Regions from separate parts of the Homo sapiens genome. Here all the other regions are linked to region 1. Evidence: promoter capture Hi-C in 16 types of primary human blood cells and fetal thymus (Javierre and others, 2016). All regions are on one chromosome and are shown on one strand. Each heading gives the region's core, a stretch centred on a gene start or on the middle of the fragment in contact. The rest is flanking DNA. Distances are from core to core; before and after follow the strand shown. Region 1 holds the start of ZNF585A (zinc finger protein 585A). Region 2 overlaps ZFP28 (ZFP28 zinc finger protein). Region 3 holds the start of ZNF347 (zinc finger protein 347). Region 4 holds the start of ZNF468 (zinc finger protein 468). Region 5 holds the start of ZNF841 (zinc finger protein 841).

Region 1 (4,411 bases), core at 580-3,079:
TTGCAATGAATGTGCCTTGCTAGTGTCAAGATGGAGCTGAACTTAAAATGGTGTCACTCTGGGTCTCCTAGGTTTCATCTTCCCTAACACTATGACCACACCTGCTGTCTTCTTGATGTTTCCTTGTAAATGTTTTTAATTCCTTTCTTTTTAAATTAGAAATTTACTATGAAAATTTCACACAAATACTATGGAAGAGAACATTATAATGAGTTCTGTCTACTTATCACTCTGCTTTAACATTTATCAACATTTTCTTTTGCAATACCATATACCCCTTCTCAGTGGAGTTTTTTTTTTCTCAGTGGAGTTTTTAAAGCTAATATTATTCCACCCATAAATATTTCCACACGAATCCCTAAAAGTTAAGTCATCTTCTTTTTAACAGAGCTGCATTACTGACAAAATCAACAGTAATTCTTAGCCCCTTGGTAGAAATTGTGTGTTTACTAACGGACTTCCACAGATGTTTCCTTAGACCGTCCTTTCGGAGAAGAAAGAAAACCTGAGATCAGCAGAGTCTAATTCTCTAAACATATTTTTAAGCCGAGTCCCAGAGACAGACATAACTGGCCTGAAGGCATCCAGCATGCCCACATCAGAGTGTAGGTTCAATTCCCTGAAAACAAGTTTCCCACCTGCTGGAACTGAACACATTGGGTAGTAATTTCCCACCACTGTTCAGGTAGAACTTCCTGTCAGAAGCTGAGCTGTGAATCATGTTTAGGAGTTCACCAAGTGAAAGGAATTGTATCTTTACAACTCCTCATCCACACCCTCCAAAAAGGGGAGTAAGGAGGTTTCAGAATTTCCACAGAGGAGAAGCTAAGGGTCAGAGACTGCACTTAAAGCTTCATTGACATGGTAAGGCGATTGTTATTAATTATATTTTAACTTCAAGGTAAATAAAAACAGTCTTCTTTAGGTGCTTTTAGTAACACGTTGGCCATACTAAAGACTATTAGTGTTGTTATTATTGCTGCCTACTATAGTTGCACTTGAGGTATTTAGTGTGGAGGGTAATGGGTGATTCAAATCTCTATTCACCTTCCCACCCGACCCAGCCCTTCAGAAGGGGACGCCCGGACTTCTCCTCCCTCCTCTGGTGGTATCTCCCAGGAGAGGATTGTATTAATACTATTGGACTTCTACCCTATTTCCCAAGGCGGTTTCTCCCATTAAAAGTTGTACCACTCTTCCTGCAGCCTACTACTCATTCAGATGTCTCTCAGACTTTCAGGGTGGTTTCACTCAAGAGATGACTCCCCTAGTGACCTTTCCACCTTTTCCCTGAATGGCGTCTGTAAAAAATGGACTGTACTATCCTGATTCCTCCTATCATCTGCCTGTGGTTTCTCCCAGGATCCCCTTCACTTGGTGATTTTTCCCTGGCTCCTCTATTCCCTGGTAATTATTATCCTCAGTGTCCTGTATTCAGAAAGGTAACTTAGCTTTTCTAAATATAACATACAGCACCAGACCCACATTTCCAGTAACTTTCTCCTCCGAAATAGAAGCCTAGTCAGACAAGGGTCACACTCCAGCATCCTATGTAACTATACCTGCCTCGCTCTAGGAAACCCTGCCAGCGGCCAATTCCTCTGCTCTACGGAATGGATATGCTTTCAAAATGGCGGCCCACGCGAATAAACACCATAAGGGCGCGGCCATGTTCTCTGCCGGACAGCGCCACATTACGGAACCTGTGCGCTGTGTCTGCGCCCTGTTGACTGTTCGAGGAAACTGGCTTCCAAGTTTATTCAGAGCATGCGCCATATCAACAGCCTACAAAGGGGAGGTGCTAGAAGTCGGACCGGAAGTGGAAGTGGTCTTCCAAGGCTTTTTTGCCGCTGGTGTCAGGAGTATTTTCATATTCCAATACCGATAAATCTTTGAGGTGATTTTGGTTGATCACGATTGGGGTTTCTGTGGAGCCAGTAATAGGGGGTGTCGAGGTTGCCTGTGGAGTTAGTGATTGCGGTTTCAGGCTTCGGTGATGGGGTTCTGTGGCGTCCGTTGTTGATTGTGACGGATTTCTCAGGTCATTGATGGAGCTCTTTGGGATGAGTGATTGAGGTTTGGGGGTCAGTGATGGGAGTCTGTGGTCAGTGACAGAGCCTGTAGGGTCAGTTATGGTGATCGGTGAGGACTGTAATCAGCTTGCTTTCTAACCTGAGTTGAAAGTTCAGCTTTTTAATTTTCAGTCTTCTTTAATATAAAAATTCTCAAGTTTTGGTGAATCTTTGTATTAAAAATTGTTCAAATCTAAGTGGTTTTTTCTTTGATCCATGAGTTATTTAGAAGTTCCTTTTTAAAGTAATGTCTGTTTAATGGTCAAATTGAAAAATTGCTTTATGACCTAGTTCGTGGTCAGTTTTCATGAATGTCACATCTATTACATAGAAACAGTGTACTATGTTCTCTAATTGTATTGTTATAGATATTAATTAAGCATATATTCAAAAAATATATCTGTCTCCTCACAGATTATTTTGTCTGCTTAATTACAGAGGAAGGTAAAGTACTCAACTCTGGAAAGGTTATTTGTCCATTTGTCCTTCTTTTTCTGCTTTATATATGTGAAATTATTAGGAATAACTATGTGCACTTTTTTTTTTTTTGAGATGGAGTCTCGCTCTGTCACCCAAGTTGGAGTGCAGTGGCGCGATCTCAGCTCACTGCAACCTCTGCCTAGTGGGTTCAACGGATTCTCCTGCCTCAGCCTCCAGAGTAGCTGGGATTAGAGGCACCCGCCACCACGCCCAGCTAATTTTTTGTATTTTTTAGTAGAGACGGGGATTCACCATGTTGGCCAGGCTGGTCTCAAACTCCTGACCTCAGGTGATCTACCTGCCTCCGCCTCCCAGAGTGCTGGGATTACAGGCGTGAGCCACTGCGCCCGGCATATGTGCATTTTTAATACTTTATAGATATGACTAAGTAGCTCAAAATATAACAATTCAAGCTTATACCAACAATTTATAAAATAACTCATTTTCCCAGATGCTTTTCCAGCAGTGGATATTGTTGCATTTTAAAAGTTTTTAAAATTTTGAGGGAAAATTATATCTAATTGCTCCAATGCATTTTCCAGTTACTAAAGTTGGCATCTTATTTGGTTAATTGCCATTTGTTTCCTTTTCTGTGAATTTTCATATCTTTTGTCCTACTTTTTTTTGTGGTATATTTTAACATAAAGTTAGGAAATATCATCTAATCAAAAGTATCTGATTTTTCTGTTACAGAGTCTGTGTTTCCTCTCACGTGTAATAAGATCCCTCCCAGCCCACCACAGTGTTATACACATGTATACTTCTAAAATTTATTTTAATAGTCTTTGTGATTTAACAAATACACATAATTAAGTGATCAGTCCTGCTGGCATTTGCCTACTGAATAGTGTGTGATGGAGATCTAGTTTGTTTTTTTCCAGGTGGCCAGCCAGTTATATCACTGCATTATATCACTGCCATTTATGCAATGAATGTCTTATGCACACTCATTTGAATACCACTTTTATCACATATATAGATCAATATTGTCTGGTATATTTATTGTTTTACTTGTTTTTATTACATTGTTTTTATATTGTTTTAATATCTGATAATGCATGGTAATCGCTGATATGTATTGTATGATTTTTGTGTGCCTGGGAGGTGTTGAGTACTTTACAAGTATTATCTCATTTAATTTTTGTAACTTTGAGATAAGCATTTTCATCCTCATTTCTGAAATTAAAAGTGAAGAAATGGCTGGGCGCAGTGGCTCACGCCTGTAATCCCAGCACTTTGGGAGGCAGAGGCGAGCGGATCAGGAGGTCAGGAGATCCAGACCATCCTGGCCAACATGGTGAAACCTCGTCTTTACCAAAAATTAGCTGGACATGGTGGCGCATGCCTGTAATCCCAGCTACTTGGGAGGCTGAGGCAGGAGAATTGCTTGAACCTGGGAGGCAGAGCTTGCAGTGAGCCGAGATCGCACCACTGCACTCCAGCCTGGCGACAGAGCGAGACTCCGTCTCAAAAGAAAGTGAAGAAACTTCTGTTCTCATAGGTGAAAAGTGTCAGAGCTGCAGTTCAAATCTGCAGTAACATTACTCCATCTCTCATGACTTTTCCCATATTTCACCGTAACTAATACCTATCACAGATTTTGTTAAATTTTATGTTCTCCTCAGCGCTGGTTCTCAAAGTGTGGTCCCTGTACTGACAGCATCAGCGTTTCCTGGGCACCAGTTAGAAACGAAACTTTTTGGGTTCTACTTTAGACCTACTGAATCAGAAACTGTGGAGTAGGCTGAGAATTTTTAACTGTGTTTCATTTAACAGGTCCTCCAGGTAACTTGAATGCATACCCATTTGAGAACCACTGCTTTGGTTTCTAGCTCAGGGACCTGCACCTTGATATATCC
Region 2 (4,411 bases), core at 1,386-3,885, about 19 Mb before region 1:
ATATAGTCTGTCACAGTTGTCTAAAGCAGCCATAGTCAATAGCTAAACAAGTAAGCATGGCTGTGGTTTGATAAAACTCTATTTACAAAAACAAGCAGCAGATAGGATTTGGTCCATGGGCTTTAGTTTGATAACCTCTGCTCCATAGCAGGGATCACACACATTTTCTGTGTAGGATCAGACAGTAGATATTTGGGCTCTGCAGGCCACATGGTCTCCTGTCACAACTGCTCAACTCTGCTGCTACAGCCTGGAAGCAGCACAATCAAGGTGTAAATCACTGTGTGGCTGAAGCCAACAAAACTTTATTTACAGACACCAAAACTTAAATTTCATATAATTTTCATGTTGAAAATATTCTTTTCACTTTTTTCAACCCTTTAAAATTTTTTTAAATTCTAGATCATGGACCATACAAAAACAGTCAGTGAGACTGTGGCCATGAGTCATAGTTTGCTGACCCCTATTCTGGATCAGTTTACCTCACAATGAATGGTTCCTTAAAAGTTTTAATACGGTTCACTTATAAATGTGATTTTTAAACAAGTCAAATCTTGCAAAGTTTTCTAATTCTTGAGTAACGTCAGTTGTTTTAACTTCATGCATATAAATCTTGCATTTTTCTGATTTTTTAAATTCATTTGTCCCAGCTGGCCTATTCATTCATGGTCCCTAGACTTTCTAAAACAAATCAAGTCAAATGTAAAGTTTAATTTTCTCACCAACAAGGTCACATCACCTTACATTCACATAGGGTCAGATGGAAAGCCACAAAACTAACTTGGCATTATAGAATCAAGTTTTAAAACCAACAAAGGCAAAACCTCACCCACTACTGGAGAATTCTGTTCCTGATAGAAAATGTGCTTTTTCCTACCCTCACCCTACTGCATCATTTTTTTATCAGAGCTGACTACTGTAACTTTTCAATGTTCAAATACAAAGTTTTTAAAACAGCTAAGTTTACTGAGCACTTACTATGGACCAGGCACTGTGCTGAGCACATCTCACACATTAACCAATTTAAAGAAACTATAAGTTTTACAAGAGGAGTGAATAAGTTACATTTACACTTATGTGAAGAACTAACTAATAAGGGACAAAAAGAAAACAAAAGGGCAGGGAGATGGGGTTTTAAACTGCTGGAGTAGTCAAACAGAAATGACGTCTCGAGGCTATGGTGATGGGAGGGAGGATGGATTCCAGAGAAATTTGGGAAACAGATCCACAGGATTTGACGTGGAAGGTAAAGAGGGGCATGTTGACGACTCTCCAGTATGAATTCGCTGATGATGAGCTAAGTGAGCAGTTTGCCTGAAGACTTTTCTGCTTTTCTTATAGTTATAAGATCTCTCTCCAGTATGAACTCTCTTATGTTGATTAAGGTGTCCAATTTGGATGAAGGTTTTCCTACATTCCTTACATTCATATGGTTTCTTTCCAGAATGGATTCTCTGATGTACACTAAGGGATTGACGATGACTAAAGGCTTTGCCACACACACTGCATTCATAAGGTTTTTCTCCAGTATGACTTCTGCGATGACAAATAAGGGAGGATTTTGTCTTGAATGCCTTTCCACACTCAATACATTCATAAGGTCTTTGGCCAGTGTGCAGTCTTTGATGTTGAGTACAGGATGAGTTATCACCAAAGGCCTTCCCACATTCCATACATTTATAGGGTTTCTCACCAGTGTGAACTCTCTGATGTTGAATGAGGTGTGTGGTCTGGCTGAAGGCTTTACCGCATTCCTTGCACTCATATGGTTTCTCTCCTGTATGGGTTTTCTGATGCTGTGCAAGGTGAGCCTTCTGGGTGAACGCTTTACTACAAACCTTACATTCATAGGGCTTCTCTCCAGTATGGATTCTCTGATGAGTGGCAAGCTGAGAACTGATGCTGAAGGATTTTCCACACTCCGCACATTCAAAAGGCTTCTCCCCAGTATGAATCCTTAAATGACTGGCAAGGTGTATATTCTGCCTAAAAGCTTTTCCGCACTCTTTACACTTAAAAGGCTTTTCTCCAGAATGTACTCTTTGATGTTGAGTGAGTGATGCATGATGGCTGAAGGCTTTTCTGCAAACATCACATTCATATGGTTTTTCTCCGGTATGAATCCTTTGATGTACAGTAAGGGAGGAACCATACCTGAAGGATTTGTGACATACATCACATTTGTAAGGTTTCTCTCCAGTATGAATTCTCCTGTGTTGATTAAGCCCTATGTGGTCACTGAAGGCTTTCCCACAATCGATGCAATCAAAGGGTTTCTCCCCAGTATGATAGTATCTCCAGTGACGGATAAGGGATGTGTTCTGTATGAAAGCTTTCCCACACTCAATGCACTCATAGGGCTTCTTGCCAGTGTGACATCTCTGGTGTCGGGCAAAGGATGAGCCGTCACTAAAGGCCTTCCCACATTCATTACATTTATAAGGTTTCTCTCCAGTGTGAATTCTCTGATGAACAGTAAGAGATGAGCTCTGGGTAAAAGTTTTCTTACATTCATTACACTTGAAAAGCTTTTTTCCTGCATAGATGCCTGTTTGTTTTATTACCACTGAACTTTTTTGAAAATTTTTAATTGAATCACGATTATGAACTTTCTCTTCTGAATCGTCCAAATAGAACCATCTTCCAGATTTGTTATATGTACGTTCTCTTTCCTTAGAGAGGGTTTTGTTATGAGTAATTGGCTCTTGCCTGAATTGTGTCTCTTGACCTACTGCAAGCTTCCTTCCAAACACATAGTCAGAATCCCAATTTTCTCTGAAACTGGAACAATCAAGTTTAGTGTTTGAGGTTCTGTCTGTTACCCCTTCAGCATATGAATCTTGCTTTGGAAATAATTCCTGGGTCTCATGTACAGATCGCTGGCCTGAAAGATACCAAGAAAACACATATTTCCTTTTTCGTGTGCTAGGAAAAAGGAATCTGCCAAAAGGAAAACTAGTGAATTAATTCACTAATTGGTGAATTCATCAACATACATTTTACAGCTCTAAAAACTATTACATTTAGGGCCAGGCACAGTGGCTTACACCTGTAATCCCAGTGCTTTGGGAGGCTGAGGTGGATCACCTGAGGCAGATCACTTGAGGCGGATCACTTGAGGCCAGGACAACATAGCCTGCACAACATAGCAAGACCCTATCTCTAAAAAACTTTTTAAAATTAGCCAGGCATGGTAGTATGTGCCTGTAGTTCCAGCTACTCAGGAGGCAAAGGCAGGGGGATTGCTTGAGCCTAGGAGGTTGATGTGGCAGTAAACTATGATCAAGCCACTGCACTCCAGCCTGGGGAACAGAGCCAGAATCTGACTCAAAAAAAAAAAACAATTATTTTCACATTTTCCTGGTTACTTCCACAAGCCTGAAAACATCCTCAATTCTCTGGCCATTCTATAATGAAGCCTTGCAATTTCTCTCTTTTTGGCAATATTTTTCCAGCTTTATTGAGGCATAGTTGACAAATAAAAATTGTATATATTTAAGGTATAAAATGTTTTGATATGCTTATACATGGTGAAATGTTTGCCACAATCAAGCTAATTACCATATCACCTCACATAATATACTGTCACTGAATTGTACACTTCAAAATGGTTAAATTTTATGTGTACTCTTCTATAATAAAAATATGTAAATAAAACAAACAAAAAACAGGCCACACAGCAAAATACAGAAGAGAAAGGTAAGGAAAGAAGGGAAAAATGAGAAGGAAAGAAAGAAAAGGAAGGAAGGTGATAAAGGAGAGAGAAATAATTAAGTTACAGAAGGTCAAACAAATGTATTATATGATTCAAATGGGACTATACATCTATTCATTTTTTAAGAGATAGGAGTGAAACAAATGAAAAAATCAACAAAGTACGTGCTTCTATAAATGAAGATAATTCCCAAGTTAAGCTACTATATAGTAAGAAATACCATATGCAAACTTCTAGACCACACAAAATTGGGGAAAAATTTTATCAAACTTATTAAAAAATAGCATTCATATCAATGTTGCATAAATACAGGAAAATATACAACCCAATAGAAATGTGACTAATGAGTATAAACACACTATGAATAGAATACAAACTCTAAACAGATTTAAGAGCACATATTCTCAACATCGTAAGTAGTTGGGGAAATGCAAATTAAATAAAACATTTTTCATCTAGCAGCTTGGCAAAATTTTTTTTAAACTACAAAATACCCATATTGGTGATGATGTCTAGAAACAGTATTCTCATATATTCTTTACCAACGGTACAGCAAAATATCCATGACACTTTAAAAATACATATACTTCGACCATGCAAATTCATTTCCAAGCATATATCTTCAAGAAATATTCTGACATGTAAGCAAGAAGATATGTACAAACTGGACCACTGTTGATTATAGGTGAAAACTGG
Region 3 (4,411 bases), core at 782-3,281, about 16 Mb before region 1:
TTGTTTTGTTTTGTTTTTTGAGACGGAGGCTTGCTCTGTCACCGGGGCTGGAATGCAGTGGCGTGATCTCGGCTCACTGCAACCTCCACCTCCCAGGTTCAAGTGATTCTCCTGCCTCAGCCTCCCAAGTAGCTGGGACTACAGGCATGTGCCACCACGCCTGGCTAATTTTTGTATTTTTAGTAGAGACAGTTTCACCATGTTGGCCAGGCTGGTCTCGAACTCCTGACCTCAAGTGATCCACCCGCCTCTGCCTCCCAAAGTGCTGGGATTACAGGTGTGAGCCACCACGCCCTGCCCTAGTTTTCTTGATAGTAATATTCTACATTTATTCTTCCGCTGTACCCATAGGACTCATTAAAAATAACACAACTGTTGAAAATGTTTTTGAAATCCTGTTTAGTTATAATGCCTAAGATGTTTTTATACTAACTCAGTGAAAATCTGTGGAAAAGTTTCTTACATAATAAATATGATTAAGCAGTTTTACTGGAAGGGCATTTCTCCAAAGGCTATGGAAATGTTATTTTCAGTTTATGGTATTGAGCAATATATTTCATGGTTTATGTTCAATTGTAGTAAAATTACTTTTTATTTTTTAATATGATTTTCCCTTTTATTTTTTTCTTTCATATATTGTAACCCAGATGAAACGTTTAATATTTTGTTAAAGTGAAAACTATACGGTGTATATAAATAAGGGTGTTGTTTGGAGATAAAATTGTGTGACATGAAAATGTACATAAGACAATAGCAGGTATAAACTAGGTTCTCTATAAACATGAAAAAAGGGTATCCCTGTGAGTCTTTAGTTCAGTCAATGTACTGGGATGGTACGTTAGAAATACTGGAAAACTATTCTTTAGGCGAAAATAAATCCAATTGTCATGTGGTGACTATTTTCCACACTCTGTTATCCACATCTGATAGAACATTAAGAAACAGAAAACAAAAAAATAGACCCAATATAGATTACAATTTTAAAATAAAAAGTACTGTGTCAAGTTCCCTTCAGAATGCCCATAAAGTGAATTTGAAATTACATGATATTTAGAAATTATTGATTTAAGCATATTTTGATGCAAAGAAAGATTATGTCAAAGTTGTTTGTGGTTAAGTCATTTCAAGTGTGGAACGGAATAACGAATATAAGCAAAAATAATGCAGTTTATCTCTATTTTTTAAAAATTCACATGGTTTAAATCAGTAGTTGACTGGGCACAGTAGTTCACTCCTGTAATCCCAGCAATTTTGGAGGCCCAGGCAGGAGGATTGCTTGAGGTCAAGAGTTGGAGACCAGCCTGGGCCGAGACTCCCATCTTTACAAAAATATATGTTTTAAAGAACAATAAAGCAGCCCTTGGTGATCTAACTTATCGGCCTTAACCTTCCCATGAATTGAGCACAGGCTTGACTCTTCCACTGGGGAGAATGGGGATTTGAAATGTAAAGGAGGTTCTGTTGGGCTACTGCATTAAATTGCATATCCGTCCAGGTAGGATGCTGCATTTCCCATTCTACTTTGAATCATCCTCAGAGATAATTTCCAGACATTTTAGTTAAATTAAATACATTTTAATTGCAGGAATTGCTGGATCCAATCGCCGTGCCTCGTGGATCCTCCACTAAGATCCCAGTTCCCAGACCGAGATCCCCGATTCCCAGATCCCCGTTCCTGAGCTGCAGCAGACTCCCTAGCAGGACTGGGTCCAACCCGCCGGCAAACAATTTTAACATAAACCGTTTTCAACTTGGTAAGAGGAAATCATTTTGGTTTCTATCATAAGTGGTCCACGTAAGTCTATTCTTTCACCTTAAAACTGCTTCAAATTGGAACGGTGCTCCCGGGGACATAGTGAACACTCCAGCGTTTCTAAACCGGGAAAAATGAGACTGCGGGCTAGGCAGGCTGAGGGAAGCGCAGACCCCGCCCCAGCTCCGCCCCAGCGTTTCGTCCGCAGACCCCGCCTCTCCCCAGGCCCCGCCCCCAGAGTGCCCGGGCTCTTTTCCGCGCACGCGCAGTTTTCTGCAGTTCCGGAAGCGGATCGTGTTGGGTGCGGGTGACGCCGCCGAGCGTGAGTGTCCCTCAGTATGGATTAAACTTGCGAACCGCCGTGCCCCGTTTCCGCAGCCAGTTCCCGGGCTCGCTACAGACCTTTTTTTTTTTCTTTTTTTTTTTTTTTGGTGAGACGGAGATTTACTCTTGTTGTCCAGGCTGGAGTGCAATGGCGCGATTTCGGCTCACCGCATCCTCCGCCTCCCAGGTTCAAGCGATTCTCCTGCCTCAGCCTCCCGAGTAGCTGGGATTACAGGCATGTGCCACCACGCCCGGCTAATTTTGTATTTTTAGTAGAGACGGGGTTTCACCGTGTTGCCCAGGCTGATCTCGAACTCCTGACCTCAGGTAATCCGCCCGCCTCGGCCTCCCAAAGTGCTGGGGTTACAAGCGTGAGCCACTGCGCCCGGCAGCTACAGACCTTAAGATCCCCGCACCGCGCCCTCCACCCCAGCTGACTCGCGGTGTGGGTTCGGAGTCGCTTCTCTTTGGGTTGAAGTAGCTCTGAGGCTTCTCCCTGTCCCCGGCCTTTCGCGTCTTCCTCCCGCTTAAAACCCTTTCCTGACCCCTCCTCCCGCCCCGGGCTTTTTAAAGTCCTCGCCCGCGAGGTGGATTCCCGCCCTGGGTGCCTCCCAGCCTCGCCCTCGTCGGCCCCTGGAGCGCAGCTCCTCAGCCCCGGTACCGGCGAGGCCGCGTCCTCTGCCTGGTCCTGGCATCCTGCAGACCCCACCCCTCTTCTAAGGCGCCGTCGCCCCGCCACCTCCCTCCTCCTCGTGCCGGGCCCTGCTGCTCCCCAGGCCTCCCCTTCGCAGTCCCCGCTTCTCCTGAGCCCGCGCTGGGGAGGTGCCCGGGGCCTGTCCTGTGACACCCGGTGTTCTTGCCTGCCCAGCTCCAGCCCCTGGAAAATGCGCTCCTCCAAGATGCAGGCGTCTTAGTCCAAACCTTCCTGTGAATGTGTGGACCAAGGGGATTAGCAGGTAGAGAAAGGGGCAGAGACAGAGAGAGAAGTAGAAAAACTGAGAGGAAAGAGTGAGGGAAACCCGTAACCAGATGGCAAAGTAGAGGATGGGCGAGGGATTTGCAGATGGTAAGAGAAGGAGCTGAGAAGGCAGAAGGAGAAAAGCAACTGGGGAAATGTAGAGAAAAGCTCGATGTCCAGAGACATGAAGGACAGCAAGGTAGGGAGAGGGCCAGAAAGTGGGAGGCTCCTCAGACAGAGTCCGGGAGAGGAGGAGGGATTTGGAGCCAGGGCAGACAAGCAGCGTGGTGCTGGGACAGCAAGAGGGGACAGCCGGTGACGAGGAGAGCAGAAGGAGAACCACAGCAGGGGGAGGCCTGGGATCTGGGGGTGCCAGAGAGTGGGGCAAGAGGTGTAGAAGGGAAGAGGAGATTCAACAGAGGGAGCAGAGATGGGAGAAGAAAGAGGCAGAAATATATGGAGACTGGGGACAATGAAAAGACTGGGGAGAAAGAGGAATCAGAGTTGAAACAAGGCCCCAGAATGGGACAGAACAGGTGCAAGCGGAGGAAGAAGGGGAGAAATAGCAGGAGATGAGAGGGGCTCAGAACGACGCGCAAAGAACCAGGGGAAAAACACAGAAAATAAAAAATAAGCTAATGTGAGAATGAGAGCTATGTAGAGGATGAGGGAGGGAAACACACAGTATGGAAGCAAGAGAGGGACCCTGAGTCCAGGTGAGTGGTGCGTTGATTAGATGTGATGATGACATTGTGACATTGGTTTCTGGGTTTAAAATAATGCAACACATTTAAAATACGTTTACTTAAATTATGCAGTTGCAAATGAGAATGGAAGAAACTCCTTTATGTAAAATGCGTAACACGTGCATTTGACAATTATTAGTATTAGGGTATAGCTTCATTTGCAATCACTATTCAAACCAGAGGGCAGTGACTTCGCTCATTTAGTTTTGAGTCCACCCACTTCCCTTTTCCTGGAATAGGGTAGGGTGTGGGCGAGTGTATGAACTAAGAGGAAAAAATATTTTTCCTTTGATTTTCTTTCCTGTCACACTCAATACAACAGGGCACATTCTACACAGTGTCTCGCCTCCACTCACGAAAATGTGTGCGGATTTCTCCCACCAACAACCCGTTCTCTATCAGACACTAACTGAGTGTCGTATAGTTTAACTCAATTCTGAAACTCTCTACCTGGAGTTAGCATCAGATCCCACTGATTGAGGCTCAGTTCCACGAAATTGCCCCCGCATCAGGTGCCAGTTGTAAGTCTCCCGTTGGTACCTGAACTTCTGAGCGACCAGCTATACACTGGGGATTCCCTTGACATCCCCCTCCCCACCACCTCAGGTTCTATTAATTTGTGAGGGCGGC
Region 4 (4,411 bases), core at 1,197-3,696, about 16 Mb before region 1:
GGCGGGCGCCTGTAGTCCCAGCTACTCTGGAGGCTGAGGCAGGAGAATGGCGTGAACCCGGGAGGCGGAGCTTGCAGTGAGCGGATATTGCGCCACTGCATTCCAGCCTGGGTGACAGAGCGATACACCGTCTCAAAAAAAAAAAAAAAAGAAAGAAAAACTTAAAGAGGAGGCATTTCCTTTGTTTATGAGGACACCCTACTTTGTAACTGGTAGCGTGTAGTGCAATAAAATTTAGTTTCCTAATATCAATTTAAAAAAAAACAGTTTACCTGTAAGTAGGAAGACTACCCAGCCCCAGAGATAAGACCTTTTGGCATCATTGTCCCTTCTTACGGAGTGATAAAGTAACCTTCCTTGAAGTGTATCAATCCATCACCAGTCAAGCTGCCGCAGCCTATGCACTGGTCTTGAATGGAAAATGTGTTGATTCTGCTAAAGCTTCTCTGTCTTTCCCTGTGTGTGAAACCTTAACATCTCTACATGGGAACACGGGCCCCCTTCATTTGGAGTTGATGTTTCCAGATGGCTATCCTCAAACTTTGTGTTCCAATAAACTCTATAATTAATCGTGTATTCTGAATTTTATTATTTACTGCTGACGTCAGTTTCCGTCAGATTGTAGGAGCCTCACTAGAGAGGGCACCTGTCGCCATGTCGTAAAACTCACACTTGTCAAAAAGACGTGGGTTAATGTATTTCCCCTCCTTCTGCATGAAGCTAGTTAGCTGACACAGATGGTCACCTCCATTACCAAGTAGAGCCAGGATGAACTATGTGCGACCAAAGACTTGTCAAGTCCTCTTCCCTGAGGACTGATTAGTGTTTATCTTGAAAACATGTACTTAATGGGTTGTATAGAGCAGTGAAGTTTCTCTCTTTTCAACCTCTCAGCTCTTTGCCTGTATTTCCCAACACATTCTGGTCTAAGGCTTATTTACTAATAAAATGGTTTTTATTTCTTCCTGTTTTGTCATGAAGATGATTTCTCATTTTGGGGAAGATTTTTTAGTTTTCAATTGTATTTTTTCAACATTTAAAAAGCGAAGTAAAGAGTATTTCTTGGGCCAGGCACAGTGGCTCACGCCTGTAATCCCAGAACTTCGGGAGGCCGAGGCAGGCGGATCACTTGAAGTCAGGAGTTCGAGACCAGCCTGTCCAACATGATGAAACCCCGTCTGTACCCAAAATACAAAAATTAGCCGGGCATGGTGGGTGTGCCTGTAATGCCAGCTACTCCGGAGGCTGAGGCAGAAGAATCGCTTCAACCCAGGAGGCAGAGGCTGCAGTGAGCCGAGATGTCACCATTGTACTCCAGCCTGGGCGACAGAGAAATACTCAGTCTCAAAAAAAAAAAAAAAAAGAAGAAGAAGAAGAAAAAGAAAAAATGTAAATAAAAAGGAGAAAGTAACAGATCTCTTTTACAAATGTGCTGGGACAACTAACTGGATATCCATATGGAGAAGAGTAATGTTGTATTCCTATCTCACACAAGCAAATTTAGTTTGTTTATTTATTTTTAGAGAGGGAGTCTGGCTCTGTCGCCCAGGCTGGAGTGCAGTGGCTCGGTCTCGGCCCACTGCAAGCTCCACCTCCCATGTTCACCGCATTCTCCTGCCTCAGCCTCCTGAGTAGCTGGGACTACAGGCGCCCGCCACCACGCCCGGCTAATTTTTGTATTTTTAGTGGAGACGGGGTTTCATCGTGTAAGCCAGGATGGTCGCGATCTCCTGACCTCGTGATCCGCCCGCCTCAGCCTCCCAAAGTGCTGGGATTACAGGCGTGAGTCACCGTGCCCGGCCTAATAAAAATTTTATTTTAAAAATTTAAAAAAGAGAGAGACTGCGGGAGGGAATGTTACATTGTCGCGCAGGCTGTCCTGGACCCCCAGGCTGAGCGATCCTCCCGCCGCTGCTTCCTGAGTAGCTGGGACCTCAGGCTCCCACGCCCGCATCCCTGCTGTGTTTAAGCAGCAGGTGGTGACCTCACTCCTCCCTGGCCTGAGCACTCCGTCTGGCATCCCAGGCTGTGGCCCTAGGGATGTCTCTGAAGCTGAGCACTGGGTGGACTCTCCCTCCTGAGTGAATGGAGAATAGAAAGGGAGAAGATTTCTATACTGTCCTGTGGGCCATCAGCATGAAATCCTACGTTCCGCCCAGAAAGGGCTTTGCATTTTACATTCTAGTTTGCATCCTCCTTCCAGACTATTCCAGGGCTTTTGAATTATCCGTCTGCCTTCCTGGGGGCTCTCGCCGCCAAAACCCGGAGAACGGGTTGGGAGGAGGCTGAGAGATGCACAGGTCCCGCTCCGGCCCCGCCCTCTGCGGGTTCTAAAGGGCAAGGTCTCGCCGCTTCGCGCCCCGCCCACACCTCACCCGGGCCCCGCTCGCCTCCTCGTTGGCTCCACCCAGGCCTGGTTTCTGTCCTGCGCGCGCAGATTCGCGCAGACCAGGAAGTGGATCCCGTGGAATGACGGTCACGCCGCGGCGGGCGGTGAGTTTTGCTCTGTGTGGTGTTAAGTCTGAGCTTCCCAGGTCCCCGGCACTTCTGTACATGGGATGTGGGGTCCCCATAGACCTGGAAGTTCTCGCCTTTCTTCCTTCACTCAGAGCAAATGGAGATGTTCTACTGGGAGTCCGGAAGCCCCTTCTTTTTAGGTTTAAAGTCGCCCTGAGGCTGGTCCCGTCCCGGGTCTTTCTGCCATAGGGCAATGTATACGTTTCCTATCGCGTAGTTTTCCTGCTCAAAACCGTTTTTTGACTCCTTCCGCACGGCTCTTTTTAAAGTCCTCACCCTAGAGGTGTATTCCCACCCTGTGCGCCTCCCAGCCTTACTCTCCTGGGTTCCTGGAGCACAGCGCGGCGACCCCAGTCCCGGGAAGGCTGCGTTCTGTGGTCCTGGGATCCTGCGGATCCCACCCTTGTCCGAAGGCGTCGTCGCTCCCCACCTCCCTCCTCCTCTTGCTGGGCCCTGCTGCTCCCCAGATCTCCCCTCCGCAGTCACCGCGTCCCCTGAGCCCTCGTTGGAGAGGTGCCTGGGGCTTGTCCTGTGACGCGGGGTGTTCTTGCCCGCCCAGCTCCAGCACTTGGAAAATGCGCTTCTCCGAGATGCAGGCGTCTTACTCCAAACCCTCTTGTGATCGTGTGGGCCAAAGGGATCAGGAGACAGAGAGAGGGACTGAGAGAGCAGTAGAAAACCTGAGACAGAGAAAAGAAGAATGAGAAAGACCCATAACAGATGGCAAAGTAGAGGATGGGTGAGGGATTTGCCAAGAGACAGCAAAAGTGATAAAAGATAAGAAAGCAGGAGGAGAAAAGCAACTGGAGAAATGTAGAGAAAAGCTAGATGTACAGAGAGATGAAGGACAGCAAGGTAGGGAGAGGGGCAGAAATGTGGAGGCTCATCAGAGTGAGGGAGAGGAGGAGGGATGTGGAGCCGGGTCAGACAGAGCAGAGTGGTGCTGGTGGCAAGGAGAACAGAGGGAGAAGCACAGCGGGGAGGACACCTGGGGATCTGGGGTGCCAGATTGGGTCCAGGGGGTTATAACAGAGAAGAGAGAATTTAACAGGGAGAGCAGAGGAGGCGCATAGATGGGAGAAGAGGCAGAAATCTATGGAGATTGAGGACGATCTAAAGATTGGGGAGAAGGACCAACAGGAGGTTAAATAAGTTGCAAGGATGGAGCCCAGCTAATTTTTGTATTTCTAGTAGAGATAGGGTTTCACCATGTTGGCCAGGTTGGTCTCAAACTCCTGACCTCAGGTAATCCACCCACCTCCACCTCCCAAAGTGCTGGAATTACAGGTGTGAACCACCTCAGCTGTCCACCCATGTATTTCTTGATTGAAATAATTTGCTTATGTCTTGGTTCTACAGCTGACCCTGTTTCCCTGTTTTCAAGGTCAAGAGCTGTGTGTTTACACTGCTGCATTTTATAAATGTTAGTGTGATTTTCTTGTAAGGAAGAATTCAATGTTGGGAGTCAATTTCATCAGAACCTTTCAAAAGAATTTTCTTTAACCCAGGCATGTGAAAAATGCTTCTCTAATTTTAAGAATGGGATGATAAGACCAACCCATCCCATTAGCCCTTCCAGGCCCCCATGTAAGAATTCAGGCACACCTTCTCACTCATCTCAGACCTTCTCAGGGTAACTTCGTGAAAATGTTTCCAGCTCTGAGCCCCAGTGAACCTCCCTGCATCTTTGCGACGAAGGGCTAGACCAGAAAAGCTCAACCTGAGTGATCCTGACCCCTGAAATGATTGGCAAAATAGAGGCGGTGTCTGGGTGTGGCTTTTTTTCTGGTAGAGGAGAGTGCCCAGTTGTAATTAGAATTTTCAGTGGGATGCAGTACCCCAAAAATGAAAAAAAAAAAAGCAGAAGAATGGAAGAAACAGAGCGGTAGACTCA
Region 5 (4,411 bases), core at 1,118-3,617, about 15 Mb before region 1:
CTCACCATGTTGCCCAGGCTGGGCTGGAACTGCCCACCTCGGCCTCCTAAAATGTGGAGATTACAGGGGCAAGCCAGTTTGCCCAGCTGAATCTCCTCTTCTTATAAAGAAATCAGCCAGATTGGATCAGAACCCACTTTAACAAGCTTATTTTTACTTGATCACTCCTGTAGATGCCATATATCCAAATACAGTTATATTCTGAGGTACTGGGTATTAGGACTTCAAGATAGGGTTTTTTTTGTGTGTGGAAATTTTTCTGCTCATAACACACTGTGTTCTGGACTCCTAAACTTTATGTCCTTCTTACATGCAAGATCCCTTCACTCCCATCAGAACAAAAATCTTTTATTTATTTATTTGAGATGGGGTCTCTCTCTGTCACCCAGGCTGGAGTGCAGTGGCGTAATCATGACTTGTCACAGTCTCGACCTCCTGGGCTCAAGTGATCCTCCTGCCTCAGCCTCCCAATAGCTGGGACCACACATGCAGGCCACCATGCCTGGCTAATTTAATTTTTTGTAGAGATGGGGTCTGACTATGTTGCCCAGGCTGGTCTCAAATCCTTGGCCTTAAGTGATCCTGCCACTTCAGCCGCCCAAGTAGCTGGGACTACAGGAGTGTGCCACTAAGCATGGCTAATTTTTATATCTTCTGTAGAGACGGGGTTCTTGCTATGTGCCCAGGCTGGTCTTGAACTCCTGAGCTCAAGTAATCTGCCAGACTCGGCCTCCTGAATTGTTGGGGTTACAGGCCTAAGCTACCTTGCCTGGCCCATCTGAAAAGTCTTAATCCATTTCAGTATCAACTCTAAGGCCCAAATATCACCTAAATATTATCTGAATCACATATGGGTGAGACACAAGGTGTGGTTCATCCTGAGGCAAAGTTTCTGCCCAGCTGTGAATCTGTGAAGCCAGAGAAGTTATCTGCTTCCAAAATACAATGGTGGGACAGGCATAGGAAACACCCTCAGCCCTGGAAACCACCCTTCTACTTTGTTACTCTGAATTTGATGTTTGTACTTAGCACGTGTAAGTAAGTGCATGAAGTATGTTTCTTTGTGTGTGTTGGGAACGGGTGCTCAGTGTCGCAAAAATCAACACTGAGACAAAGGATCTCTCAGCAAGGCTAGTTTACTTTCTGCAGAAAGGGTGCTGCTCACTAGCAGTCTTGCCACGAGAGTACACATGAACAAAAGAGAAGGGTCATTTATAACCTGACGCATCTGGCCGGGCGCGGTGGCTCATGCCTGTAATCCCAGCACTTTGGGAGGCCGAGGTGGGCGGATCACGAGGTCAGGAGATCGAGACCATCCTGGCTAACGCAGTGAAACCCCGTCTCTACTAAAAATACAAAAAATTAGCTGGGCGCAGTGGCAGGTGCCTCTAGTCCCAGCTACTCGGGAGGCTGAGGCAGGAGAATGGCGTGAACCCAGGAGGCAGAGCTTGCAGTGAGCCGAGATAGCGCCACTGCACTCCGGCCTGGGCGAAAGAACGAGACTCCGTCTCAAAAAAAATAATAATAATAATAACCTGACGCGTCCACCCTACTGCTGTGTCTGGTTTCCATTGGCTGGAATCGGACCCAATTCTGTGCTTGACCTGATTGGCTAGCACCTTAGAACTTCCCAAAAGAGGCAAAGGCAGAGGAGAACAAAGGAAGAGAGGAAGTAACTTGTGGAAGGCTGAGAGAGGCAAAAACACTTCCAAATAAGGAAGAGGAATAGGCTGTGACCTAATGCTTGCTTGGAACAATTCAGGCATGCCAGGGCAAATATCTAGGCTAAAATGTGGGAGCTAAGAACACAGAGTATATTGATTTATCTATTATGGCTAGCAGATATTTAAGAATATTAGCACAGGTCTTTGAGTAAATTTTGCTTCTAAGAGAGGTTACTATCTATTCTCAATTAGACTGGGAGGAAAGTCCCTTTGAAGAGGAACCTCTACTTATTTCATTTTCTACACTGTGTCTAGCACATTTCGCTTGGCATAATGTCTTCTGGGTTCCTGGATCCAGTCACTGCTCCACATCCAATCCCCACCGAGATCCCAGTTCCCTGACTACTGAGTAGCTTCAGCTTTTCTGGTAAGACTGGATGGAGTCCACCAGGCTCGGAAAAATCGGTTTTGACTTAAATCAGTTCAACTTGTTAAGAATAAATCATCTTAGTTTCCAGTATAAGTGGACCACAACTTTAAGATTCAACCTTAAATTCTGAAACATTAATTTAAAATGGGCAAGGAGCAACGCTGCTTCACAGGACAAGAAATAGTCACAAATACTCCCAAACCTGGAAAACAAAATCCTGCTGGGTGAGAGGCGGAGTGGAGAACAGGCCCCGCCTCGGCCCCGCCCACCCCTGGAGGCCCCGCTTCATCCCAGTTTTCGGTCCAGCCAAGCCCCACCTAGTCACGCCCCCTACCGCCCTGGGCCTCCCACCACCCTTTCGGGCCACTCCCAAGTCAGGCCAGTCTTTCCGCCCAGCCCTTTCCTAGTCGCGCCCCGCCTAGGCCCCGCCCCCAGGCCGCCCAGTTTTTCTTTCCGCGCCCAGTTTCCTGCACACCCGGAAGCAGATCGCGCTGGGGAAAGGCCACGTCGCTATGAGTGTGTTTCAGTCTACCTGGATTAAACGTTTGCTTCTCTTCGTCTACCTTGATTAAACGTGCACTTCGCAGTCCTCGGTTCTCCATACCCGTGACCTGGGGATCGCTACGGACCTTAAAATACCCGCAACAGCCCCTTCGTCCCAAGTAAGTAGGAGAATTGCTTCCCTTTCGGTTTAAAATCTCTCTGAGGCCGTTCCTTGCTCTCTGCCTTTCTTCCTTAGGACCATGTAGACAACCCCATTCAGGTAGTGTTCCCGCTTAAAACCCTCTGCTTGGGCCCCGCGCCAAGTCGAGTCCTCATTCGGGATGTGGACTAGCGCCCTTCGCGATCCCCGAGCTCCTCCGTCGTCTGCCCCTGGAGGGGAGCGCCCACTGTCCGGCTCCTGAAGGAGCCGCTTCTCCTCCCACGTCCTGGGATTCTGCAGACCCTCCCTGTCGTGAGACATCGTTCTCCGCGCCACCTCGTGTCGTCCTCACGCCGGGTCCTTCCGCTCCCCAGGCTTCCCCTTCACAGCCACTGCTTTTCTTGACTCCCCGTTGGGACAGGTTACCTGAGTCTGTCTTGTGACACCCAGTGTTCTTCCTTCCCAAATTTTACTCCACTGGAAAATGTGCTCTTCCGGGAGGTGGGCATCCTATTCCTCCCCTTTCCTCCCGAATGTGTGGGTGAGAGGGATCAGGAGAGGAAAAGACGGGGAACGACGGAGCAAAAGGAAAAACTGAGGAGAAAAGAATGAGGGAGACCCATAAATACACGGCAAAATGGATGATACTTTAGGGACTTGCAAAGAGAGCAAGAGTGAAAGAGAACGGATGGAAAAAGTAGCAGGGGGAGAAAAGCACACAGAGAAATTTAGAAAAAAAGGGGACCTTCAGAGAGATGAAGGGCAGCAAAATAGAGTGGGGCGGCAAAGGAGGAGGCACTGCAGACAGACAGACAGTGGGGAGAAGGTGAAAGAGTTGGAGCCGCGGCTGACAGAGCTACGTGGTGCTGGGACTGAAAGAGAGGGAGAGAGGGCAGTGGGTGACAAGCAGAGTAGAGGGAGAACCACAGCAGGGAGTAAGCCTAGGAAATTGGGGGTGCTAGAGAGTGGGAACAAAGGAGATGTAACAGGGAAGAGGGAATTTAACAAGGAGAGCAGAGAGGGAGCTTAGATGGGGGAAAAGAGGCAGAAATACGTGGAGATTGGGGACAATCGGAAAGATTGGGGAGAAAGAGCTACGAGAGGTGAAGTAAGTTGCAGAGCATTGGGCAGAACAGACATAAAAGAGGGAATAAAGAAAGGGGTGCAAAACAGAAAAGGAGAAAAAAAAGACGCTCAGAATGAGAGAGGGAAACACATAGCCGTGAAGAAAGCGGGAGAGGACCCCATCCAGATGCGTGACAGTTGATTGGATATGGATGGTGGTTGTAATATATTGATTTGTGGCTTTATACTCTGATTTGAAATATGTTTAAGTTGTACTCATGAGGATGAAAATCACCAAAGTTTTTTCTATAAGCCTTGTGCATTTTGTATGTATTTGTATCAAAAGATATTTGGAATTCCTATTTAGCCAGAGGGCAGTGACTTGATCCAGTTATTTGTGGTAACTCTCTTCTTCCCAATGATGGAGTAGAGCATAAAGGAGGGGAGAAATGGGGCAAGAAATGACTGACTGTCACTACAAGATATGTCTTTGGTGTTTTTTTTGGCTTTGTTCTGTTTTGTTTTGGGGGGGGACATGGTCTCTCTCTGCCGCCTAGGCTGGAGAGCAGTGGCATGATCTCGGCTCACTGCAGCTTCTACTTCCTGGCC

The links. Contacts are between HindIII fragments. The CHiCAGO score rates a contact against its expected background, and 5 or more counts as called.
Region 2: a contact is called between a fragment that was not itself captured here and the fragment with the promoter of ZNF585A in region 1, in 1 of 17 cell types (activated CD4 T cells). The highest score is 5.4, in activated CD4 T cells.
Region 3: the fragment with the promoter of ZNF347 here is called in contact with the fragment with the promoter of ZNF585A in region 1 in 2 of 17 cell types (activated CD4 T cells and naive B cells); the score reaches 9.2 in activated CD4 T cells.
Region 4: the fragment with the promoter of ZNF468 here is called in contact with the fragment with the promoter of ZNF585A in region 1 in 1 of 17 cell types (total CD4 T cells); the score reaches 6.4 in total CD4 T cells.
Region 5: a fragment that was not itself captured here is called in contact with the fragment with the promoter of ZNF585A in region 1 in 1 of 17 cell types (total CD4 T cells); the score reaches 5.2 in total CD4 T cells.

The regions. Positions count from the first base shown.
Region 1 is chr19:37,170,113-37,174,523 of GRCh38, reverse strand. It overlaps ZNF585A (zinc finger protein 585A), which reads left to right and starts at 1,829. Exons shown (of 5, transcript NM_001288800.2): 1 at 1,829-1,897. RefSeq lists enhancers at 1,603-1,897, 1,739-1,928. The HindIII fragment of the contact is 2,114 bases long and covers 854-2,967 here.
Region 2 is chr19:56,552,157-56,556,567 of GRCh38, reverse strand. It overlaps ZFP28 (ZFP28 zinc finger protein), which reads right to left. Exons shown (of 8, transcript NM_020828.2): 8 at 1-2,884. The coding sequence ends at 1,176. The region is part of intron 1 of ZNF470-DT (ZNF470 divergent transcript); the gene reads left to right. Among named protein-coding and RNA genes, the nearest start is that of ZNF470, 13 kb to the left of the region's middle. RefSeq lists an enhancer at 1,118-2,317. The HindIII fragment of the contact is 210 bases long and covers 2,531-2,740 here.
Region 3 is chr19:53,156,673-53,161,083 of GRCh38, reverse strand. ZNF347 (zinc finger protein 347) reads left to right here and starts at 2,031. Exons shown (of 5, transcript NM_032584.3): 1 at 2,031-2,075. RefSeq lists a silencer at 1,849-2,098 and an enhancer at 1,834-2,128. The HindIII fragment of the contact is 5,586 bases long and covers 1-4,411 here.
Region 4 is chr19:52,855,654-52,860,064 of GRCh38, reverse strand. It overlaps ZNF468 (zinc finger protein 468), which reads left to right and starts at 2,446. Exons shown (of 4, transcript NM_001008801.2): 1 at 2,446-2,493. It also overlaps a transcript of ZNF320 not described here. RefSeq lists an enhancer at 2,768-2,847. The HindIII fragment of the contact is 10,660 bases long and covers 444-4,411 here.
Region 5 is chr19:52,093,920-52,098,330 of GRCh38, reverse strand. It overlaps ZNF841 (zinc finger protein 841), which reads left to right and starts at 2,566. Exons shown (of 7, transcript NM_001136499.2): 1 at 2,566-2,756; 2 at 4,360-4,411. The HindIII fragment of the contact is 4,438 bases long and covers 149-4,411 here.